2 separate regions of the Homo sapiens genome follow, and region 2 is linked to region 1. The links are contacts of gene promoters, found by promoter capture Hi-C in blood cells and fetal thymus (Javierre and others, 2016). All regions are on one chromosome and are shown on one strand. Each heading gives the region's core, a stretch centred on a gene start or on the middle of the fragment in contact. The rest is flanking DNA. Distances are from core to core; before and after follow the strand shown.

Region 1 (6,218 bases), core at 1,837-4,336:
TTTCCAGATGGTTCTTTATTTATTTATTTTGAGAGCGGGTCTCACTCTGTGGCCCAGGCTGAGGTGCAGTGGTGCAATCATAGCTCACTACAGCCTCAAACTCCTGGGCTCAAGCAATCCTCCTGCCTCAGCCTCCTGAGTAGCTGGGACAGCAGGCATGTGCCATCATGCCCAGCTAATTTTGAAATTTTTTGTAAAGATAAAGTCTCACTATATTGCCGAGGCTGGTTTCAAACCCCCGGGCTTAAGTGATCCCCCCGCCTCAGCCTCCCAAAGAGTTGAGCTTATAGGCATGAGCCACAATGCCAGGCCCAGGCAGTTCTTATTGTTAGGAAGTTTGTCTCACCATGTCAAGCCCAAATCTCCTTCTCCTGCAAATGTTTGTTAAGCCTCTACTGTTCCGGTAAGGACTGGGGCTAGAGAAAAGATGAGAACACGGGATCTACCCCGAGGGCTGGCTGTGTAACATCCGCCTGCTGGGCTGGAGCCTCTGCACCTACAGCCACACGACTGGTCCTTTAGATATGTTCCGCATGTCTGACTTAAGCTTTTGTTCCTCAGACCAAGGCTCGGCAGGCTTCCGTCCTCCTCATCGCACCATACCACGTCTGGTCCCCCTTCTCCCCACCTGGTCCAGGCTGCCTCTCCAGAAGTGGAATTTCCTAAGCCGAGAGATCTCTGGATGCAAGCAGGGCCCCTTGACAGAAACCACTGCCTTTTCTGTCTCCCAGCTGCAGCCTGGCTTTCTTGCCTTCTTTGCTGCTGATCTTTTAAAGATTCAGGCAGATCTAGGTCCCCAATCACCTCCCTCCCCTGCTCAGAAGCCCTTGGCTCCCCACTCCTTCCAGAATAAAGCTCAAACCCCTTCTCTTGGCTTAAGCTCTCCCTCTGCCTGCCCCTTCTCCCAAGGGCTGGCACAAGTGATTCCCAGCCCCTGTGCCCTATCAGGCTCCACAACCCATCCTTGCACTCTCCCTCTGGAGCAGGCATCCCCATGCTCCTCTTACAGCCAAGGAAAAGAGCCTAGAGAGGACAAGGACATTTTCCATGATCCTCCATCAAATTAGTTTTGGAGTGGGCACTTCAGAGTGGGCCTCCTCATTCCCAGGCCGGCAGACTTCCTTCCGCTCCATGCAGCAGCCTCCCAGGTACAATGCTCTATTCACAGTATTCCCCATTCACAGGGATCCTCAGCCTCCATCACCTGCACGTGGGAAAGGGTCTGAAAAAAAGGAAAGCTTCTTGCTCTTTGTTGTTGGGCCTCTGGGGAAGAAAGAACAGGGACAAACAGGAACACCTGCTTGATTGGCCCCTCCCTATGCACACCCAGTAGTTTCAGGGAGTTGAAACAACCTCATAGGAGGGCAGACTTTGGTGGGGAGGGCAAGTCATAGTAAACACAATACCCCGCTCATTCAAGATAAGGCTCAGCAACTGCACAAGTTAACCAAGAGGCTCAACATTTGCCACAAATCCTGTGCCCCAGGCATAGGTCAAGACCCCACAGCAACCTCTGAGCTATGAGAACCGAATCCATGGGTTTGCAGATCCCACTGGATGAAAATGGGAAACAAGAATTATCCAGTGTAGGGTAAGATAAGAAGAATAGAGGTTATGTCACTAAGGATAAAATAGCTCCAGCCTGAGCAACATGGCGAGACCCCATCTCTACAAAAAAAAAAACACACAAAACAAAACAAAAAAAAACTTATCTAGGCATGGTGGCGCATGCCTGTAGTCCCAGCTACTCTGGAGGCTGATGTGGGAGGATTGCTTGAGCCCGGGAGGTTAAGGCTGCAGTGATCCATGATAGTGCCACTGCACAGTAGCCTAAATGTCAGAGCAAGACCCCATCTCAAAGAATAAAATAAAATAGCTGTCAACAGACACATTCCACATGACAACTTAAGGAGTCAAAATTCACTGAATGAAGTGTAGCCGAGCCCAACAGCATTGCTGGCAACCCTGATGACTGAAGGCACTCCAGAGTTTATAATCTATCATTATGATCATCGGTTAGCTTCCTGCAGTGCTTACTGATTCTGGGATTAGATGTACTTGAGATTGCCTGGATTCAGGATAAACGGGCACTTGATCTACATCCGTTGGCACCTTTTGCCAGCTTTCATGCCAGGAATGCCAGGAGAATTCTGCAGATTCACCTGCAGCTGACAGAGGTCAGGTCTCAAGCACCCAAATTCGCAAGGCCATTTTTGAAAACCCAGGGAAAGAACATCTTTAACCTTCCTTGAATATCCCCCTTTGAAATTTGAGCACCCCAAAGCATAGACTTCCTGATCTGGTTTATAAACTGTTTCAGTGACAGCATTCCAAGTTAAAAGAAATCTAAGTTTTTAATGAGGAAGCATCTTGAACTGTCATTCAAAAGAGTGACACTCCACCTCCTTCCAGAAGGGGTTTGAGGCAGTCTATGGTGAAAGACACAAATACTTCAGGACCATTAAAGCAAGGATCAGGAGACAGGCGTGGGGTAGCGGAGGACTCCAAAGGCAGATAATTGTGTCTAAAACCTGGAGTAAAGAGTGTGGCTGCAATTGAGCAAGAAAGCAAAATGTTATCAATTTCCCGGCAATTACATTGAATCAGTTCTGAGTGATCAATGAGCAGTATTGATTTGCACAGCCACTTGGCTCATCTCTGATCCATGGCAGAATCCCATCGCTGACAGGAAAATCGAGCCAACTCACGTTTGCCCCCGAAGCCTGCCCACGCATCCTCGAAGGAGCACTGAGACCTCACCACCTGCGACAGACACCTGGAGCCAGTCCGCCACGCGCCCAAGTTAAGACAAGCCCCAAACAGCACCATCAAAAGCCTATTCCAGAGCCCCTATTGAGGGGTGATTTTATCCAGAGAGGGGCTCAAATGTACTCACCAGTCCATGGGCAAAGAGGATGGCGGTGGGCCTCTTGGACTCAGTGTTTCTAAGTTGGTGAGAAGGTTAACTTTTCTTACCCCCACCCAGCCTAGCCCCCCCAGGGCCACCCCTCTCACCTGATGCGGCAGATATCCCTCTGCTCCGAGGCACTGCTCAAATCCAGGGGCCCTGGGCTGGGTGTTTGCTCTGGCAGCCGCCTGGCGTTCCCATCATTTATCTCTTCATTTTCCTAAGCGTTGTCAGCGTCAGAGAATCAATTACCCACAAGTCAACCAAAGGACTGTTTTTAGCATCATATCACACTGACAAACCCTGTTGGTGAAAGAGGTTTGGCCCCTTGCAGACTTAGACTCCTGGTAAAGTCTCCTTTTATCTTTGGCACAGTGGACATAGTACAAAGGTGTAACATTATTCCAAGAGGATATAGAGAATATATACTGCTATAATAGTGATTGGAGAACTCGGCTGGGCGCGGTGGCTCACACCTGCCATCCTAGCACTTTGGGAGGCTGAGGCGGGTGGATTGCCTGAGCTCAGAAGTTTGAGACCAACCTGGGCAACATAATGAGACCCTGTCTCTAGAAAAAAATTAAAAATTAGCTGGGCATGTTGGCACATGGGTATAGTCCCAGCTACTCAGGTGGCTGAGGCAAGAGTGTCACCTGAGCCTGGGAGGCGGAGGTTGCAGTGAGCCAAGACCACGCTATGGCACTCCAGCCTGGGTGACAGAGCACGACTCTATCTCAAAATATATATTTTTTAAAAAAAGAAAAAATATGTGTTAAAAATAATTGGAGAACTCATAACAGTGAAACACCAAGAGTTTATTGATTCTCCAAGATAAATGTGCCTTTTCAAAAGTTCATATAATTTAGCTTTGTCCCTGTGTAATTTTATTTCACTTTTGGGTAGACAACATTATGAATAAGCGTTATTCTCTCCTTAGTGGGGAATTTGTTCCCTATCTCCCTTGTCGTCCAATTATCAGAATTCTGCACTATTTGATTTACACCTGCTTGGTCACAGGCTGATTTCAACAGCTAGCCTGGGGGCATCCGTCGTCACCTGTCAAGGCAGCCAGACATTGGCAGTTGCCTCAGAGAAGTGTGAAATGAGAGGGAAGAGATGGAAAACCTTGGGAGAGTTGTTGTGTTTCCAGATTTCTCTAGCCTATAGCTAAGAAATCCTCAGGAATGACATAAAAGCACAGGAGGCAGAAGCTCTGGTTTCCCAGGCGGCCGTCGTGGAGGTGTGGAAAGAGCTCCAAGCCTCGAGTCTAGGGACCTGCTGCCTCTCCCAAGCCTGTCAATCATGACCTCTGTGACCCTTAGGAAGTTACTTCTACCTGGCTGGGTGCAGTGGCTCACACCTGTAATCCCAGCACTTTGGGAGGCTGAGGCGGGTGGATCATGAGGTCAGGGGTTCGAGACCAGCCTGACCAACATGGTGAAACCCCGTCTCTACTAAAAATACAAAAATTAGCTGGGTGTGGTAGTGGGCACCTGTAATCCCAGCTACTCAGGAGGCTGAGGCAGGAGAATTGCTTGAACCCGGGAGGTGGAGGTTGCAGTGAGCCGAGATCGTGCCACTGCACTCCAGCCTGGGCGACAGAGCGAGACTCTGTCTCAAAAAAAGAAAAAAAACTTCTACCCTCCGGGCCTCAGTTTCTACCTGGAAACTTGAGAGTTGACATAGAACAGCAACTTTCAAACTATTTTTTTGAGAGGGATCCTATCTTTGCCACCCAGGTTGGAGTGCAGTGGCATAATCTCGACTCATTGCAACCTCCACCTCCCGGGTTCAAATGATTCTCCTGCCTTAGCCTCCAGAGTAGCTGGGATTACAGGTGCGTACCACCACGCCTGGCTAAGTTTTGTATTTTAGTAGAGATGGGATTTCACCATGTTGGCCAGGTTGGTCTCAAACTTCTGACCTCAGGTGATCCACGTGCTTCTGCCTCCCAAAGCACTGGGATGACAGGTGTGAGCCACCACACCCAGCCCAAACATTTTTTAAAAAGTAGCAAAACTCTTTCTTTGGAAACCTACAGAGACAGGTTTTTAATATGGGGCTACTCTGGTTGAAGAGGGGGAAGTGGAGACCCCCTTGCCTATCCCTGAGGTACCTCGATGGGTCACAATTACAAGCCAGTAATTTCCAAGAGTCCCCTTAGCAACACTATTTTGTGGTTCTCCTTCTTAGCCTGCACTGAGCCATGTTCTTGGCATCTAGCAAATATGAGATGTTTCTCATAGAAGCAAGGCTTGAGTGGTATGTCACCTTGCTGGCCAGGATACGAAGTGGTCAGGTCAGGCCAGATCCCCAAGGATTAAGAATGGGCTGATAGTGGCCAGGTGCGGTGGCTCATGCCTGTAACCCCAGCACTTTGGGAGGCCGAGGCAGGCGGACTGCCTGAGCTCAGGAGTTCGTGACCACTCTGGGCAACATGGTGAAACCCCGTCTCTACTAAAATACAAAAAAATTAGCTGGGTGTAGTGGCATGTGCCTGTAATCCCAGCTACTGGGGAGGCTGAGGCACAAGAATAGCTTAAGCCCCAGAGGCAGAGGTTGGTGTGAGCCGAGATGGCGCCGCTGCACTTCAGCTTGAACAACAGAGTGAGACTCTGTCTCAAAAAAAAAAATAAATAAAAACAGGGCGTGGTGGTTCACGTCTGTAATCCCAGCACCTTGGGAGGCTGAGGCGGGCGGCTCACGAGGTCAGGAGATCGAGATCATTCTGGCTAACATGGTGAAATCCCGTCTCTATTAAAAATACAAAAAATTAGCCGGGCGTGGTGGTGGGTGCCTGTGGTCCCAGCTACTCGGGAGGCTGAGGCAGAAGAATGGCTCAGGACCCAGGAGGCGGAGCTTGCAGTGAACCAAGATGGTGCCACTGCACTCCAGCCTGGGTGACAGAGTGAGACTCCGTCTCAAAAAAATAAATAAAATAAATAAATAAATAAAAATAAAAATAAAAATAAATGGGTTGATAGCTTTAAATTAATTATTATTATTATTATTTTATTTACTTAATTTTTTGGAGACAGGGTCTCGCTCAGGCTAGAGTGTAGTGGTGAGATCTCAGCTCACTGCAGCCTTGACCTCCTAGGCTCAAGCAGTCCCCAACCTCAGCCTCCTGAGTAGCTGGGACTGCAGTTGCACGCCACCATGCCCAGCTAATTTTGTTTATTTTTAGTAGAGATGAGATCTCACTATGTTGTCCTGGCCAGAACTCAAATATTATTTAAAAAAAAAAAGTGCAGGTCACAGCAGCAGGGAGCAGACGAAGCAGTTGGGAGCCCCAGGGCTATGGGCTCTC
Region 2 (6,080 bases), core at 881-3,380, 290 kb after region 1:
CTGGGCAACATAGTGAGACCTTGTCTCTACAAAAAATAAAAAATAAATCAGCTGAGTATGGTGGCCCATGCCTGTGGTCCTAGTTACTTGGGAGGCTGAGGTGGGAGGGTTCCTTGAGCCCGGGAAGTTGGGGTTGCAGTGATCTGTGATTGTGCTACTGTACTCCAGCCTAGGTGACAAAGCAAGATCCAGTCTCAAAAAAAAAAAAAAAAAGTAGAAAGACTTTAAATAAACAACCTAATGATGTACCTTAAAGAACTAGAAAAGCAAGAACAAACCAAACCCAATATTACTAGAAGGAAAGAAATAATAGTGATAAAAACAGAAATAAATGAAGTTGAAATGAAAAAAATACAAAAGATCAATGAAACAAAAAGTTGGTTTTTTGAAAATATAAACAAAATTAACAAACCTTTATCTAGACTAACCTATAAAAAAAGAGAAGATCTACATAAATAAAATCAGAGATGAAAAGGGAGTCCTTACAACTGATAGCACAGAAATTCAAAGGATCATTACAGAGTATTATGAACAGCTGTATACCAACAAATTGGAAAACCTAGAAGAAATGGACAAATTCCTGGACATGTTGTTTAATTTCCATGTATTTGTACAATTTCAAAAGTTCCTCGTTATTTATTTCTAGTGTCATTCCATTATGGTCAGAAAAGATGTTTGGTATAATTTAAATTTTTAAAAATTGGTTAAGACTTGTTTTGTGGTCTAAAATGTGGCCTATCCTGGAGAATGTTCCACGTGCAGATGAGTAGAATGTATATTCGTCAGCAGTTGGATGAAATGTTTTGGGCTTGGGCTATGAGTCTCCACCTGCCTTGGGTAGCTCTCCTGAGCCTTGGAGGACCAGCTCATCATGAATCCTAGGCTTTAACTGTTCCTTGCTGCTATCTGTAAGTAATAAATCTTCATGTAACTTGTGTGTGTGAGCATTCTGCCTCAATAGACTTGAGCAAGCAACAAAGCGCAGACTAAGATGCAGAGGGCTGAGGTGGTAACCAGTGCACAGTGAACCTGCTTTACAGCAGGTCCTGTCTCTTCCTCAAGGAGATTATTACTCTTTAGAACTCAATTCATTTGGTCACCTTGTTGTCATAGTAAGTAAGTAGGTAGCTACTCAGACACGAGCAGGGCAGGAGAGGCCCCCCAAACCCAGGAATGTCAGGCAACCATCAGGTGATGGTCAGACAGCTGTTAAAACTGTTGCTTTAAAATAATAATTGGTTGCAGCCGGCGCCAGGGAAAGGCAGTCTCCCAATAGATAAAAACACCTGAAATGGGTGATCAGCTTACCGATAAGATCTCAGGAGTTGGGCGAGTGGGCTCAAGCATACGCACTAAAAGGCAAAATGGTGGAGTTTAAGTGGTACGTAGCCTTCTAGGAACACTTGAATGGTAAGGGAAGAATGCCTCAAGTGAGCATGTGTACAACGCCAGTAAACACACTGCGCATGCGGCCCGTCCCAAATGCGGGCAGGCCCCTGTGCATGCAGACAGCCCACCCCAAGGGAAGAATCAGGGAAGAAGTCAGGCAACCTCAGAAGCATGCCAACGTATAAGACCCCAAGTCAAAGGTCAGACCACACACTTGACTCTCTCAAGTCGCCAGCTTGGCCCCCTTCCAAGTGTACTTTACTTCCTTTCATTCCTGCTCTAAAGCTTTTTAATAAACGTTTACTTCTGCTCTAAAACTTGCCTTGGTCTCCCGCTCTGTCTTATGGCCCTCAGTTGAATTCTTTCCTCTGAGGAGGCAAGAATTGAGGTTGCTGCAGACCCATACAGATTTGCCACTGCTCACATTGTGATCTTAGTTCTGTGATGAGCTCAAGAAAAGTTATGATTTTATAAATAAATTATCTTTTTCTCTTTTTTAGGATGAGTGCACCATTCTCTTGCAGCCCTTTTTGTTTTTTTTTGAGACAGTGTCTCGCTCTGTTGCCCAGGCTGCAGTGCAGTGGTGCAGTCTCGGCTCACTGCAACCTCTGCCTTCTGTGTTCGAGCGATTCTCCTGCCTCAGCCTCCCGACTAGCTGGGACTACAGGCATGCACCACCATGCCTGGCTAATTTTTGTATATTTAGTAGAGATGGGGTTTTGCCATGTTGGCCAGGCTGGTCTCGAGCTCTCGATCTCGAGTGATCCACCCACCTCGGCCTTCCAAAGTGCTGGGATTACAGGCGTGAGCCACCGTGGCTGGCCTTCTCTTGCAGCTTTCTATATCCTAAGCAGAAATGGAATCCCATATTAAAATTTTTCTAAGATCAGGTAACTTCGTTTTGTTTCTACATACTAACAACGAACACGTGAAATCCCCAAATTACAATGGTACCATTTAAAGTATCTTCAAAGAAAACAAAATACTAAGGTACAAACTTACAAAACACATACAGGATCTGTATGCTGAAAATTACAAAATGCTGATGAACAAATTCAAAGAAGACCTAAATAAAGAGAGACATTGTGTTCATGGATTGGATCACTTAACGTAGTAAAGATGTCAGTTCTCCCTAAATTGATTTATATATTGAGTGCAATTCGTGTAAAAGTCCCAGAGAGGCTTTTGTAGACATAGACAAGCTTGTTCTAAAATTTATATAGAAAGGCAAAACTTTGTGAATATACTCAAAATTACTGAATTGTATACTTTAAAGGGTGAACTTTGGGGTATGTGAATTATATCTCAATAAAGTTGTTATAAAAACATTTAAGCTGGGCATAGAGGCTCATGCCTGTATTCCCAGCACTTCGGGAGGCTGAGGTGAGTGGATCACTTGAGGTCAGGAGTTCAAGACCAGCCTGGCCAACATGGTTAAGCCCTGTCTGTATTAAAAATACAAAAATTAGCCAGGTGTGATGGTGCACACCTGTAATCCTAGCTACTTGGGAGGCTGAGGCAGGAGAATCACTGGAACCCTGAAGGCAGAGGTTGAAGTGAGCCGAGAGTGCACCACTACACTCCAGCCTGGGCGACAGAGTGAGACTCATCTCAAAACAAACAAACAAACAATGACAACAATAACAACAACAAACATTTAAGAGGGCCCCCACCATCAGGTGCTGCTTCTGCCCTTGCAGAGCCTGAGGGTGAGACCCTCATGTTTTGTGCCCTTGTACCTCCCTGCTACACCCTAGTCCTGGACCTGGTGGAAGATGCAGGTATTTATCCTCTAAATTCTGATTCTGGGGTTTAACTCTCCTGGCTTGCCCTCTGTATCCATCCAAGCTCAGGACTGTGGGCGGGTGACTCCCTTGGGCTAAGACACAAGAAGCCATCAGGCTGCGTGTCCATCGATGTCTGTGGCATTGTCAGCGTCTGCCACTCTTAGTGTCATCTGGCTACCGCCATCTTCCCTGTCCTTCTCCTCCTGGCCTCGGTTCTCTTTCAAGGAATATACCACTTTCCCACCCTGGGGCCCTCACACAGGCTGTTTCTCCTCCCTGAAGCACTGTCCCCACCCCCTTCCTATCTCATCCTTCAGGACTCAGCCCAAATGTCACCTCCTCAGAGAGGGCTTCTCTTCCTGCCCTGTCCCAAAATGTTCTCCATTATTCTCTCTCATAACACTCAGAATATTTTCTTAATAGCACTTATCTCCATTTGGAAAGTGTGTACTCATTTGTTTTTCTAAGTATTTAGTGTCTGTCTTCCCTACCAGGCAGTGAGATTTAGGAGAGAGGGACTGGGTCTGTTTTGCTCGTGGCTGTATCCACCATATACTTCTCTGTGCCTGGCACATAGGTGGTGCTCAATAAATGCTTGTCAGGTGCTTTATGAATACAACACACTCCTGGCCCTGCTCCCCTAAACAAGCACTCCTAAGTGGGGGAGGGAGGCATTGAGGCAGGCACCTGTGGCACCAGGTGGTCTGTGCTATGATGGGCAGGTGAGCAGAGGAGTGCAGGAAGCTAAATGAGGCAGAAATTAATTCTGGGAGCTCAGAGAGGGAAGAAAATCTAGAGAGCAAGTGCAATGTGAATTGGGTTTTGAAGGATGAATAGGAGAGTGCTGGGTACGTAAGGACATTGGAAGAAAATCTCAGGCAGAGGTAAGAGCATAGAGAAGAGTTTGGAATAGATAAGAGCCACTGCCTCTGGCTGTGTGAGTGCATGTGTGTGCATATGTGCGTGAGTATGAATGTGTGTGTGTGTGTGTGTGTGTGTGTGTGTGTAGGGTGGTAGGGTGGTAGGGTGTGAATCTGGAGATGCAGGTAGAACCCTGGACACAAAAGGTTTTTAAGGCCAGGCATGGTGGCTCATGCCTGTAATCCCAGCACTTTGGGAGGCCAAGGCAGGGAGATCACTTGAGCCCAGGAGATGGAGACCAGCCTGGGCAACGTGGCAAGACCCCGTCTGTACCCAAAAAATGAAAAATTAGCTGAGCATGGTGGCGCGCCTGTAGTCTCAGCTACTTGGGAGGCTGAGGCAGGAGGATCACTTAAGCCTGGGAGGTTGAGTTTGCAGTGAGCTACAATTGTGCCACTGCACTCCAGCCTGGGCAACAGAGTGATACCCTGTCTCAAAAATAAATAAATAAAATTAAATAAAAGGTTTTTAACACCCAGCTAAAGATTGATTCTAACTTCCAGCAGTTTTCTTAGTGTGAAGTCAGTTTCACTGGAGAGGGTAGGTGGTACCTGTCTGGGTGATTTGATGTAGGACTCATAATTCTTTCTTTTCTTTTTTTTTCCTTTTGAGACAGGGTCTCACTATGTTGCCCAGGCTGATCTCACACTCTTGGGCTCAATTGATCTTCCTGACTCGGCCTCCCAAAGTACTGGGATTACAGGTGTGAGCCACCATGCTCAGCTGAACTCATAATTTTATAAGGATTTTAAAATAGTAAATCATTTTAATAGTTTCCTTTTAAAGATAAATGTATATAAATCAAAAAGGCAAGTCGACTTGAAGAAATATATTAAGTAAATAATAAATACAGGTGAAACCCCAGGGCAGACATTTGGCAAATGCTGCTGTGGATGGTGGGAGCCACAGCAAGGACAGAATGAGTGAAGAGGGTGGTGGGGCTGGAGTTGAAGGCCCAACTGGATGGACTGGGGAACGTGCACTAGTCTGGAAGGCATGAGGCCAGGGCCTGTGGGACCTGGAGGAAGGGAGAATCTACAGGCCTGGGAGCCTGATTGGATGTGGGAATGAAGCGGGCCAGGAGTTGAGGGACGCCCTAGTTTGGGGCTTGAAGGTACCAGGCTGCTTCTAACAGGAGGTGTCACAGTTGGCCATGTTACAGAACCTCTTTTCTAAGACTTGGATTCTTATTCACTGCAATGAAACAAAATTTGCAAACCTCTGTGTGACAAAGCGTTCCTTCCTGTGTCCCCAGTCAAATGCTGTAGCAGACGTGGTTGGCACCCTGTCCACACCCTTCCCTTGACCCATCTTGGAATTGACATGCAGAGAGTACCATGCTCACCAGCAGCTTTCTGTGTCTTTCTGCCCAAGGGCATTCTCTGGCCAGGGCCAGCTCAGCCTACACACGTCCCAGACTCACCATGGTCCAGCAGAAGATGGGAGCTGGGTAAATGGCCCAGCCTCTCCTCTCAGTGGCACAGCTCTGAGGTGTGGTCTGCAGTCTCCCAGAGGGACCTCAGCCAAACTGAGCCCCAGCTGTCCACAGCAGGAACCCATTCATTAGCGCCCTGTACTGGCTTCCTTCCCTTCCCTGGATGGCTTCCTGACTCTCAAATTGTGCTTCCTGGAACTACCTCCCAAAGAAACCACCTGCACCCAAATTTTTGCCTCAGGGTCTGCTTTCATGGGAACCCCAAAGCAAAACAAGCAAGAAATGTTAGGGTCACCACTACTTCCCTAGCTTCCTCTGGAGTTGCAGGCGTCATTTTTCCAGTTGATGTGGGTCCTCACAGTCCACCATATGCAGCTGTCTTTGTGGACACAACTGGAGGCACACGATCGGGATGAGGGCAGAGCAGTCCCCCTTTTTAATTGTTTTAATTAAGTCAACAATTGGCAGCCCTTGGGTACATGCCAGAGTCAGAGGTGTTTGAACCAGAGCAACTCCATCTTGAATAGGGGCTGGGTGAAATGAGGCTG

What was found. The method cuts DNA at HindIII sites, captures the fragments that hold promoters and counts their contacts. A CHiCAGO score of 5 or more calls a contact.
Region 2: a contact is called between a fragment that was not itself captured here and the fragment with the promoter of GHRH in region 1, in 7 of 17 cell types (endothelial precursors, M2 macrophages, M1 macrophages and 4 more). The highest score is 7.2, in endothelial precursors.

What each region holds. Positions count from the first base shown.
Region 1 is chr20:37,258,728-37,264,945 of GRCh38, forward strand. GHRH (growth hormone releasing hormone) reads right to left here and starts at 3,087. Exons shown (of 5, transcript NM_021081.6): 1 at 3,016-3,087. The HindIII fragment of the contact is 7,318 bases long and covers 1,237-6,218 here.
Region 2 is chr20:37,553,450-37,559,529 of GRCh38, forward strand. No RefSeq gene overlaps it. Among named protein-coding and RNA genes, the nearest start is that of LINC01746, 15 kb to the right of the region's middle. The HindIII fragment of the contact is 917 bases long and covers 1,673-2,589 here.